4 separate regions of the Homo sapiens genome follow, and all the other regions are linked to region 3. The links are contacts of gene promoters, found by promoter capture Hi-C in blood cells and fetal thymus (Javierre and others, 2016). All regions are on one chromosome and are shown on one strand. The core of a region is centred on a gene start or on the middle of the fragment in contact, and the rest is flanking DNA. Distances in the headings are between cores, read along the strand shown. Region 1 has its middle 2.2 kb from the start of C2CD4D-AS1. Region 2 overlaps THEM4 (thioesterase superfamily member 4). Region 3 holds the start of MRPL9 (mitochondrial ribosomal protein L9). Region 4 overlaps SNX27 (sorting nexin 27).

Region 1 (2,987 bases), core at 276-2,775, 73 kb after region 3:
GGAGGTGGCAAGAAGGGTTTAAATGCTGGGGCAGAATCACTTATAAGAATGTGGTCTGCCATTTACTAGCTGTAGGCCCTGAGGGAAATCTCAGCCCTCAGCTACCACATCAGTAAAAATGGGGCAATAATACCTGTCCTAACTAGTGGATTTTTTTGTTTTGTTTTGTTTTTGAGACAAGGTCTCACTTTGTCACCCAGGCTGGAGTGCAGTGGCGTGATCTCAGCTTACTGCAGGCTTGACCTCCTGGGTTCAAGAGGTCCTCCTGCTTCAGCCCCCCAAGTAGTTGGGACTACAAGTGCATGCCACCACATGCAACTAATTTTTGCATTTTTTGTAGAGATGGGGTTTCACCATGTTGCCCAGGCTGGTCTCAAACTCCTGAGCTCAGGTAATCTGCCCGCCTCAGCCTCCCACATTTATCCACTTATCAAAGTGTTAGGATTACAGTCATGAGCCACCACACCTGGCCTCTGACTAGTGTTTATAGAAGTGCTTTGGGGCCAGAGCAATCTGCACACTGGAGGGTTTCTTAGGACCTCCTCACTCCCATGTTTCTGTACTTTAGCTACCCAGGATGTTCCTCCAGCAATGCTAGGGCCCCCATCACAGAGCCTCAGGGCTGTGAATGCTGAGTGAACTGCTCCTGGGAGGAGTGGCCTTGGATTTCCTCACAGCTTCCCCTAAGCAGTTGGGGTGGCAGTGGGGGTGTCTGGGTGGAGTCAGGTCAGAACCTTTCCCTCCAGCCAGGGCTGTTCCCCAGGCAAGCTTACTTAACCTATCTATCTGATCCATTTCTTTCTTTGTAAAGTGGGAATAATAATACCTACTCTCCTGAGTGGTTGTGACGCGGTGGCTTACGCCTGTAATCCCAGCACTTTGGGAGGCCGAGGTGGGTGGATCATGAGACCGAGACCGAGATCATGAGACCAAATCAGGAGATCGAGACCATCCTGGCTAACACGGTGAAACCCCGTCTCTACTAAAAATACAAAAAACCAGCGGGTGTGGTGGCACGCGCCTGTAGTGGCAGCTACTCGGGAGGCTGAGGCAGGAGAATCACTTGAACCTGGGAGGTGGAGATTGCAGTGAGACGAGATCGCACCACCGCACTCCAGCCTGGGCAACAGAGTGAGACTCCGTCCCCCCACCCCAAAAAAGAGGAATACTAATATCTACTCTACTGAGTGGTTGTGATGATCAACTGAGATAACACAGATAAAGTTCAGGACCTGGTCCAAAGTACTATGGTTAAAAAAAAAAAGTTTCCTCTCCTCCCTCCCTCTTTCTGTCCCTATAATCTTCCCTTCTCTTTATCTGACCCCTCTTTTCTATTCCCTTTCTTGCTTTATTTTTCTCTGTAACATATCACCAAGTAGCATTCTTTACATTTTAATGGCTTATTTTATCACTTTTCTGATCCCCATGTCTGTTTAATCACTGCTGTATCCAATGCCTGCCACCTGATGGACCTTCCCGAAGTATTTGTTGAAGGAATGCATGAATGAAGGTTCTACGGCCTCTAACTTTCTTTCCAGATACTTTCAAATGGGCATCAAATCCAGTTTCTCACCAAGGGTTGTTATGGGAGAATTTGGGGGCTGAAATAGAAATCCAGTACTAGGGGTAGACCTAAATCTATAGGTAGACTTCCCAGAATTCAAACATGGGATTTTAAACTGGCAGGGTACGAAACCTTTGCAGAGCTACCATCTTAGGGAAGGAGGCCCCTTTTAGAGTGACTTGATTGGGAGGCAGCAGCTGGCAGTGGGGGGTATTATCTTGAAGTGATTAAGAGTCCACACTCTGGAGCCAGACTCCCTGAATTCTTCCCTTTACTAGCTATGTGAGTCCTAGTTCTTCCCTTTACTAGCTATGCGAGGCCCAAGATCCCATTGGATAATAATAGTATTTACACCCTAATAGAAGGTGCTGGGAGGAATAAATGGCTTGACTAATTGTTGGAACAGTTCCTCATGTGGTTATAATCCATGTGTAGTAGTTAGCACTTAGGATTGTTTGGTCAATGCCACCACCTGGTGGACACCTGGAGCAAGAGTTCTCTGGCCTAGGGCTGGGTGGTGCGGACCCAATCAGGGAAGGGAGAAGGAACTGGAGAGCTGTCTGAATGAAGCCGTGTGTGTGTGTGTGTGTGTGTGTGTGTGTGTGTGTGTGTCTCTGTGTGTGTGTCTCTGTGTGTGTGTGTGTGTGTGTGTGTGTGTGTGTGTGTTGGAATTTAACGTGTCCAGGTGCTGAGGCTTTTGAGGTTTTGTCAGATCCCGCAAGCTTAGCCCTGGTGCAGGCCACAGCTGGCACCATGAAAAATGAGAAAGGGCCCAAGGGAGAGGGAGAAAGAAGTTGGGTTAGCCTAGTGCCTACCTCACTTCCTCCCTCCCTCCTCCAAGCCTGGCCTGAGTCCAGAGGAACCGGCTCCTGGGAAGGTGGAGGGAGAGAGAAGAAGGTCACTGCTGACGTCAGGGACATTCAGGTAGAGGTAAACACAATGTGACCTACAATTATCCACCTCCCCCCACCCCCACCTCCTTCTGGCTGGAGGAGGCTCTTCTGGCATTCCTGAGAACAGTTCTCACACTTTGGTAGTACCCCACCTCCCCCCTTTCAATCCCTGGGACATTATATCTCATTCATTTGGTACCCAAGCACCTCTCTGGTTCTTGGCTCCAGACTTGCCCCACCCCTCAAGGGACGCACAGGTGTGGAAGAGGCAAGAGGGAAGAAGGAAGACTAAAGGGCACTCTGTGTTCATCTGACATCCCCTGACTCACTCTCAAGAGCCAGAAATTTCATCTGTCTTCAGGACAGATGTGGGTTTTAGAGGGGCACAGGAAGGGAGTGTTAATTTCCTCTGTGCAGCCTCAAGTGGAAGGTGGCTTGTGTTGGTTTCTGTCAGAGTGACTCAGTGATTGCAGGGCTCCCTGATTGTTCGGGGGCCTTGTTGGCCGGGGACCTTAGGACCTACTTGGCCC
Region 2 (3,178 bases), core at 171-2,670, 120 kb after region 3:
CAATTCATGATTTTCTTTAGCTCTTGAATATGCTGACCCATTATTTCCTTAAATACTGGATCTCTTCAATTCTCTTTATTCTATTTTTCTAGGACTCTAATTAGAGCATGTTAGATCTTTTTATTTGTCCACTATAGCTTATGCTCTCTATATTTCCCATTTCCTTTTTTCTCTGTGCTGGATTCAGGGTAATTTTTTTTTTCTCTCTCTCTCTGCTAAACATAGATCTGAAAATAATAATTAAAAAGCTTCATTTAGGCCGGGCATGGTGGCTCACGCCTGTAATCCCAGCACTTTGGGAGGCCGAGGCGGATGGATCATGAGGCCAGGAGTTCAAGACCAGCATGACCAACATGGCAAAAACCCATGTTTACTAAAAATACAGAAATTAGCCGGGCATGGTGGCATGTGCCTGTAATGTCAGCGACTCAGGAGGCTGAGGCAGGAGAATCGCTTGAACGCAGGAGGCGGAGGTTGGAATGAGCCAAGATTGCACCACTGACTCCAGCCTGGGTGACAGAGAGACTCCATCTCAAAAAAAAAAAAAAAAAAGCTTCATTTAACATATTAAGCTGCTAGCTCTGAATACATTAACTGTGATCCTCAAAATATCTCTTTAAGAAAAGTATTATTGTCTTTGGTTAATGGATGAGGAAACTGAGGCCCAGAGAGGTTAGGTAATTTGCTAAAGCTGTATGGCTATTTGGTGGCACACATGGGATTCAAATCCCCAACAGTCTGATTCAAAGTTCTACTTCCCATTTTGCATTTGAGCTTGTTTTATCTGCCAAATGACTTAGTTGAGGTGGGCATGTTGATGTATTTATGGGATATATCTCAACACCGCACTAGAACAATGGAGCTGGTGACTAATTTAGTGTTTTTAGTAATACAACCACCACCACCATCACCGAGCATATGGATCTGACAAATGAACTCTTGATTAAATTTCAATGGAAGGGGAAAATAACTTGTAGGGAGAAATGATTTGAAGGTTTACTGGGCTGTGAGATTATAAAAATCATGAGAGTTTGCATTAGTTTATTTTCATGCTACTATAAAGAACTACCTGAGACTGGGTAATTTATAAAGAAAAGAGGTTTAATTGACTCACAGTTCTGCATGGCTGGGGAGGCTTCAAGAGACTTACAATCACGGCAAAGGTGAAGGGAAAGGGGAAGGGGAAGCAAGGCACGTCTTACATGGTGGCAGGAGAGAGAGAGAGAGAGAGTGCAAGGGGGGATCTGTCAAATGCTTTTATTTATTTATTTATTTATTTATTTATTTATTTATTTTCGAGATGGAGTCTTGCTCTGTTGCCCAGGCTGGAGTGCACTGGCGCAATCTCGGCTCACTGCAACTCTCAGGTTCAAGCAATTCTCCTGCCTCAGCCTCCTGAGTAGCTGGGATTATAGGCATACACCACCATGCCCAGCTAATTTTTTTTTGCATTTTCAGTAGAGATGGGGTTTCACCATGTTGGTCAGGCTGGCCTTGAACTCCTGATCTCAGGTGATCCACTCACCTTGGCCTCCCAAAATGCTGGGATTACAGGCGTGAGCCACGGTGCCCAGCCTGCCAAACACTTTTAAACCATCAGATTTCATAAGAACTCACTATCACTAGAACAGCATGGGGGAAACTGCCCCCATGATCCAGTCACCTCTCACCAGGTCCCTCCCTTGACACATGGGGATTACAATTCTAGATGAGATTTGGGTGGCGACACAAAGCCAAACCATATCAGAATTATAAAATGTCTAACTAAATTGTTAGTGAAAATAAAGGATTTAATTGTGCATTTTTTTTTTTTTGAGATGGAGTCTCACTCTGTTGCCCAGGCTGGAGTGCAGTGGCATGATCTCGGCTCATTGCAACCTCCCAGGTTCAAGCGATTCTCCTGCCTCAGCCTCCCAAGTAGCCTGGCCTTAACTGTGCATTTTAAAGGAACAAGCACTGGGCACGATGGCTCACACCTGTAATCTCAGCACTTTGGGAGGCTGAGGTGGGTGGATCACCTGAGGTCAGGAGTTTGAGACCAGCCTGGCCAACATGGTGAAACCTCGTCTCTACTAAAAATACAAAAATTAGCCGGGTATGGTGGCCTATGCCTGTAATCCCAGCTACTTGGGAGGCTAAAGCAGGAGAATCACTTGAACCCAGGAGGTAGAGGTTGCAGTGAGCTGAGATTGCGCCACTGCACTCCAGCCTGGGTGGCAGAGTGAGACTCTGTCTCAAAATAATAAATAAATAAATAAATAAATAAATAAATAAAGGAAGGAAGGAAGAAGCTTCCAGAATGTGTTGGCTACAAATTAGAAACACAGTGCCACAAGATTATTAAAGTGATGTGAGCTTCTGATTAAAAAAAATACAGAATGAAAAGCAATCGAAACTCTAAAAAGCAAACAAAACCCAGAAGCCTAGGGATTGTCATTTTCCCTTTTCAAGAAAACTATTGAGTGTATTTTTAAAGCTTTCTTTTAAATTCTTGCAGTGGAGTGATATTTAGAAGTAACTCCTGTGTTATCTATCCATAAGAATTCACATTTACCCCTCTTGTTCTTACATCAGTCAGGTATCAAAGAAACCTTTCTATATAGACTGCCCACAAGGCGGGGTAGTTATAATAGGAAAATGGAGAGAAAGAAATGACATTCCACAGCTTTTGAGTTTCTAGCAAATTCAGAGGAAATGTTCTGACCTTTACCAGCATACCATCTTATCAGGGTAATTTCTTCAGTTCTATATTTCTGTTCACTTTCAGCTGTGTTTAAATAGTCCTTTAACCTATTCACTGAGGTATTTTTTTGTTTTTAAACAATTACACTTTCATTTCCTTTTTTTTGTTTTTTTTTTGTTTTTTTTGAGATGGAGTCTCACTCTGTCGCCCAGGCTGGGGTACAATGGTGCAATCTCTGCTCACTGCAACCTCTGCCTCCTGGGTTCAAGTGATTCTCCTGCCTCAGCCTCCCAAGTAGCTGAGATTACAGGTGCGCACCACCACACCCAGCTAATTTTTGTATTTTTAGTAGAGACGGGGTTTCACCATGTTGGTCAGGCTAGTCTCAAACTCCTGACCTTGTAATCTGCCCATCTCAGCCTCCCAAAATGTTGGGATTACAGGCGTGAGCCACCATGCCCGGCCTACAATCTCATTTCTCAAAGTTTTATTAGG
Region 3 (3,100 bases), core at 600-3,099:
AGCACTTTGGGAGGCCAAGGTGGGTCTCCCAAAGTGGGTCACTTCAGCCCAGGAGTTTGAAACCAGCCTGGCCAACATGGCGAAACCCTGTCTCTACCAAAAATACAACAGTTAGCCGGGCATGGTGGCGGGTGCCTGTACTGATTATCTTCTCATGTGTCCATGTTCTCTCCAACTTGTACGTAAATATCCTTGAAGGCAGAGCCCTCATCTCAGACTATTCCATGGGTTCCCTGATTCCCAGATTGGGACCTCCCTTGGTACTTTAAGGCACTTCACCCAACACATCAGGGATCTCCCAAGAGGTCTCCATACCTGTTTTGTGGGGCAGCCACAACACTTCCCCTTTCTCCCACTCTTGGGTCTGCAATCAGGAGACCTCAAGGGAATCAGGGAGACTCTCAGGGTGAGGTTGGTAAGTCTTGTGACAAATAAACACTTTTTATGTTTCTACTCACCGCCTCACCTGCCTTGGTCTGGATCTTCTCTAATTTTCCTTCTTGTCTCAGCTAGAAAAGAAAGTTAAAGATGAAAAGCAGTAAAAGAAAAATGAGCCCATGTTAAATAGCATCAAACTATTCCTATGTTGGACATTGGCTGGGCTTCTGCATTCCTGTTCTTCTAGTTCCTATTTCATTTTCAAGTTAAGTTAAATGTCAAAGGGAAGGAAGCTGCAAGAGAAAAGAAGTTTTATCTCCCCAAGTCTCTCTGTCCTTCCTTTGAGCTCACCAATTTCTCCTCTTCAAACAGCTTCTTGTTTTCAGGGGATGCATATACAGCCAGTCCCTGAGGAAGGAGTCGATTCCGGCCTAAAGATTTCTTCACTGAGACCAGGTCACCCCGGACTCCAACATCTGTCAATTAGAACAGAGACAGGGGAATTAGAACCATCTAGGAGTCCCTAAAGAAAAGATGTCAAAAAGAGAAGCACCTCTTAGTTTCTCACAGTGCTTATTTTTCCTAAAAGAAATGCTAATTCATATTCACTAGGAACAAGATTTAAGAGACTGCTAATTAGTTTCTTTAGAACTTGATGTATAAATTTAATATCCCCTGTATAGAGGGAGTTGTCGTCCCATGGAGGATTTCAGTATCTGTGGCACAAATTGTCAGGCTCCTCTCCCCACACACTGTTAATGATGTTGCTGCCTTTATGTTTTAATTTTCAATGCTGGAGGCCAGTGTCACAATCACAATAGTTTTTATGGCTTCCTCTTCTCACATATAGAGTTGGATTGTTTCCACAAAGAAAAAGCAAGGCAAATAGTTGAGGGGGACGGGCTAGAAAAAGCTGATGCCAAACCGGACCAGCCTGAGAGGAAGCGCCTCGGCCCGGGCCTTACTCTCCACCGACTGCGTCAGGATGAGCTCCAGGTTTTCTTTGGGCCGATGCTTCGTGTCCTCCACCAGCTTATAGACGCGATGTCGCCGGTGCAGGCGCGGCTTCCGGCCCTCCCCGGCCAGCGGTACCTTCCACCAGCGCTCCACGATGACCGTGCCCTGGCGGCCAGGAAAGCGACGGTAAGCTAGTCTCCACAAGGAACACCCTCTCCCTCCACCACGGCCGCCAGCCCCTCAAGGAAAGCCCGCCACCCCCACATCGGCCCCCTCCAGGTCCCAGTGCGCCTCCAGAAACAATACTCGAGCGTATCTACCCCCTACCCCAGACTCAGCCCTCACCCGATTTTGAGAAAGGCTGAAGTTGCAGGCCAGGTCAGGGGCGTTCCCTTCATGTCGCGGCCGCAGTAGCTCCTGGACGCCTCCCCGAAGCAGCCGTCCAGCGCCCGCCCGCAGCAGAGCTCTGCCCGGGGCCGTGACAACGGGCGCCGCCATGTTCACAGGCACAGAATGAGACCTGAGGGAGGACCCCGGCGTCGGCGGCAGGAAAGGCCCCCGCCAGTGCTGCCTGCGGCGCGCCGGTACGGCTGAGCGAAAGTATGGGGAGCGGGCCGGGGAACAGATGGCACCGCGGCTTGCCTATTTTTGCTTTTTGGCAGAGGTGACGGACGCCTAGAATTACTGACTGATAATGGAATGAGTGTTAGGTGGACTGACGCCGGAAAAGACGCTCTTCCTCTTGAAAGTGTGGGCTTTGCTGTAGCTCCAGTTGCTGGGCTAACTTTTAATTCTAACGTTCTGTGATGACTGGATACTGACCGGAGAATGAATGATGCTCTCACTTTTCCTTACTTCAAATCTACCTAAAAGTGGTAAAGGATGGGATCCCTTGGAAAACTCTGCCAGCTCCAGGAGGAGCCTGACCCTTAATCATTATACTGCAGTATTTAAGCTAATAAAGGAGAATTCTAAATCACAAGCTATGTAAACCGTAGAAAAAAAAGCAACTATGGTAAGGCCGCGACAGTTCCCTCTGGGGAGGGTCTCAGTACTGGACAGAAGACCATAAAAACTGGATGAAAGAAGGTCCATTTGGCAGAGATTATGGAAAGACTGGCCCTTAAACATACTGACCAGTCCTCCTTCCTCCTAAATACACTACTTGGCCTCCTGGACACCGGTCTTCTTCAGTCTCGTTTGCTGATTTCTCCTTTTCTCCCCGCTTCTTAGAATGCCCTCGGGACTCCGTTTTTGAACCTTTACTCTTCTCAGTATACACTCACTGTTGATCTCATCCAGTCTCGTGGCTTACAATACCATTTATAAGCCAATGACTCCCAAATTTCTAGTTCCATCCTAGACATCTCCCAAACTCGTCTCAAATATTCAACTGTTTATTCGTCATTTTCCTCTTACGTATCCAAAGGACACCTCAAAGTTAACTGTCCCAAACTAATTTATTTATTCCCCCCTCGCCCCCAAAACTGCCCCATCTGCAGCCTTTTTCCTCTCAGTTGACAGAAACTCCATTCTTTCCATTCTAACTCTTTTCTCTCATACTCCATCAGGAAATCCTGTGGGTTCTACCTTTAAATTACAGATAGTCCCTGACTTGGATTTACAATTTTTGAGTTTGTGATGGTGTGAAAGTGATGTGCACTCAGTAGGACATCAATAAGTTACATGAAATATTCAACACTTTATTATAAAATAGGCTTTGTGTTAGATGATTTTACCCAACTGTCGGATAAGTTGTCTGAGC
Region 4 (2,751 bases), core at 243-2,742, 120 kb before region 3:
TATGGAAGGCTTGTTACTAAATTTAGTATCATTTTTCAGGAAGGAAAATCCCTAATGGTTTGGAACAGGACTGAAAAAGAATTTAACTCTAAAGGGTAGATAAGCTTTAAATGTTAAATTGATTAGAGGTCAGGTGTGTATTTCCTACCTCTCTTGGGATAGCCATGGGAGGGAACCTCCAGGCCTGCTGCCCAGTGGTTTTTGCTGAGAGAGCAGCTGGATCAGCATTCTGGAAGGTAGTTTGGTTTGCTGAGGGAGTCTTGTGAGACTCAGCATCTTTCTTGACAAAATACTTCATCTAAACCTTGTACTTTGTTTGCCTTATTTCAGCCTTTTGTACACAGCAAAACAGGAAGGAAAATTAGTAGGCTGACCATATAATTATAGGTGTATATTTTTTAGTTTGGACTGATTACACAGGACTCTAAATGAGATAGCATAGAGCAGGAAAAAAGTTGATGGAATCCCAAGAGGTTAATTGAATTGGAAACTAGTGTATGTGAAGAGTAATACCATTTAGCTCCCAAAGTAATGAAACTTGGCATAAAGGAAAATTAAGTTGACTGATTTGAGATATGGAGAGAAATTGGATGTAAATGTAAAGGAATTATCTTCAGTCATAACTTTTTTTGAGTCTCTATTTACAAATTAAGAGAATTTATTTTGTGAAGGTTCTTTTAACAGAATTCCTTTGAGGTTTAAAAAGGACAAAGTACAATTCAAGTGGCAGGGCTGTCAAAAGCCACTTTGATTGAATTGTATACATGCTTAGTTAGAATGAGGAAATTGGATTGTTTGACTGAAAAAGCTTTGTTTCCTCCTCAGCTTCAGCCTCTTTCCATGTGCGTTCCTGAAGCTATGTGTGGGATATTAGTATAGAGGAAGGGGAGGTCTTCTCACCTCTTTCCATTTTTCCCCCCGCCATAAGTTCACAAAGTTTTTCACATTAGAAACTGTTAAAACATAAACAACTTTTCTGGAACCAAATTAATCTTTTGACTTCATGGTTCATACCGTGTGACACTGGAGTTTGGGCAGGAGGGTGGAGATACAAGGTGTTTGGACCCTTCTGGTTTATGGGATTGTCTTTTTCCCTTTTTCCCCTTAGGAACCACGTGAATGTTGAGGGGGCGACACACAAGCAGGTGGTGGACCTGATTCGAGCAGGCGAGAAGGAATTGATCTTGACAGTGTTATCTGTACCTCCTCATGAGGCAGATAACCTAGATCCCAGTGACGACTCGTTGGGACAATCATTTTATGATTACACAGAAAAGCAAGCAGTGCCCATATCGGTCCCCAGATACAAACATGTGGAGCAGAATGGTGAGAAGTTTGTGGTGAGTGTCAGCCCAACTCGATCCTCGAACATCTAGCTTTGTTTCCCCTAGTCTTATAATTATGAAACTATTATAGTGGTAGATAAAAGGCTGCAACCTAGGTCAGTTTGTCTACCAGGAGGATGAGTTCACACATAAATAAAAGACACTGACCCTGATTTATTGCAGGGGGTGAATTACAGTAGTGGAAAAGAGTCCTACTCAGCTTGAGTATAATTCCATTTTATTTTTAGATAGTTTCAAGTTTGCATTCTGGTTTGTCGTAAACGTGTGAGTTTTTGTTTAGTTTCTTTTTTGTTTGTTCTTTTGTTGGTTGCCGTATCTCTTTGCTAATAGTATCTTATTTACTGTTGATTCTGTGGTGCTATAGGGCAAGATTAATGTAAAAGGATGGTGTCCTTCAAGATATTTGGGTAATAGAGAGGTTCACCCATTTCAGAACTTAGATGTCTCTACTCTTCTTTCCACATCATGTTCTTTTTCATTTTCTTTGGAGATATCCGTGTGAATGATTAACTGTGGTTTTTCCCACGAGTTTCCTGAATGCAATTCCCATGAGCTGTTTCACACATTTCTAATCTGTTGCTGTTGTAGCTATGCAGGAAAGCCCATCTTGAATTTTTAGTGATGTGTGCTAGCCCCTTTGCTGAATGCCTTTGTTCTTCAGAGCCTAATTGCCACTGATAGCTCAGTCTACTTAATTTTTCTTTTGGTTGCAATATGCTTTATTTGCCTTTAATTATTTGTGGAGTGTTGATATAATGAGAAATGTTCATTATTCTTAGTAGAAAATGCAGTGGGTTCTGTTAGATGCTGGCAAACAGACTACAGGTTTTAAAGCTTAACAGTTGACTAAAGTTACAGTCTCTAAAACTGAGATTTATCCTCTGCATAGGAACGAGCTACTAAACATTTATGGTAAATTCTTTTTAGTGAAGAGATAAGAAAAGCAAGGAAGCTAAAAGAGTTGCAGAGGATCAAATAATGCTTGGTTGCATCTGTAATTAGCTGTAGATAATGGCATATAGGTTTTATTTCAGCATGGACTTCTGTAGTCTTAGAACCACACACAGAATTTAGAGTTTTATGCTTCCTAAGTGCTAACTTTGAGTCATAAGGCATGTAAGAAGTTGAAATCAAGGTCACATCCTAAAAGTAGAGCAGTCTGGATGTTGAGACCTTTTGGGAATTACCTAAAACCTTGGAAACCTGAGAAAAGGAATAATACTACCAATTGTACCTTTGTTTATTTTTATTTTTATTATATATATTTTTTAAGACGAAGTCTCACTCTGTCCCCCAGCCTGGGGTACAGTGGTGTGATCTTGGCTCACTGCAATCTCTGCCTCCCGGGTTCAAACAATTCTGCCTCAGCCTCCCAAGTAGCTGGGATTACAGGTGCGCACCACCA

The links. The method cuts DNA at HindIII sites, captures the fragments that hold promoters and counts their contacts. A CHiCAGO score of 5 or more calls a contact.
Region 1: a contact is called between a fragment that was not itself captured here and the fragment with the promoter of MRPL9 in region 3, in 3 of 17 cell types (M1 macrophages, M2 macrophages and M0 macrophages). The highest score is 7.9, in M1 macrophages.
Region 2: a contact is called between a fragment that was not itself captured here and the fragment with the promoter of MRPL9 in region 3, in 1 of 17 cell types (M1 macrophages). The highest score is 5.4, in M1 macrophages.
Region 4: a fragment that was not itself captured here is called in contact with the fragment with the promoter of MRPL9 in region 3 in 1 of 17 cell types (M1 macrophages); the score reaches 5.4 in M1 macrophages.

What each region holds. Positions count from the first base shown.
Region 1 is chr1:151,834,586-151,837,572 of GRCh38, forward strand. No RefSeq gene overlaps it. Among named protein-coding and RNA genes, the nearest start is that of C2CD4D-AS1, 2.2 kb to the right of the region's middle. The HindIII fragment of the contact is 1,518 bases long and covers 767-2,284 here.
Region 2 is chr1:151,881,839-151,885,016 of GRCh38, forward strand. All of the region lies in intron 4 of THEM4 (thioesterase superfamily member 4), which reads right to left. Among named protein-coding and RNA genes, the nearest start is that of THEM4, 26 kb to the right of the region's middle. The HindIII fragment of the contact is 1,738 bases long and covers 552-2,289 here.
Region 3 is chr1:151,761,647-151,764,746 of GRCh38, forward strand. MRPL9 (mitochondrial ribosomal protein L9) reads right to left here and starts at 1,850. Exons shown (of 7, transcript NM_031420.4): 1 at 1,681-1,850; 2 at 1,344-1,500; 3 at 730-854; 4 at 459-509. The coding sequence starts at 1,833. It also overlaps a transcript of OAZ3 not described here. RefSeq lists an enhancer at 1,621-2,000. The HindIII fragment of the contact is 8,401 bases long and covers 1-3,100 here.
Region 4 is chr1:151,637,780-151,640,530 of GRCh38, forward strand. It overlaps SNX27 (sorting nexin 27), which reads left to right. Exons shown (of 12, transcript NM_001330723.2): 2 at 1,109-1,340. Among named protein-coding and RNA genes, the nearest start is that of SNX27, 27 kb to the left of the region's middle. The HindIII fragment of the contact is 1,372 bases long and covers 807-2,178 here.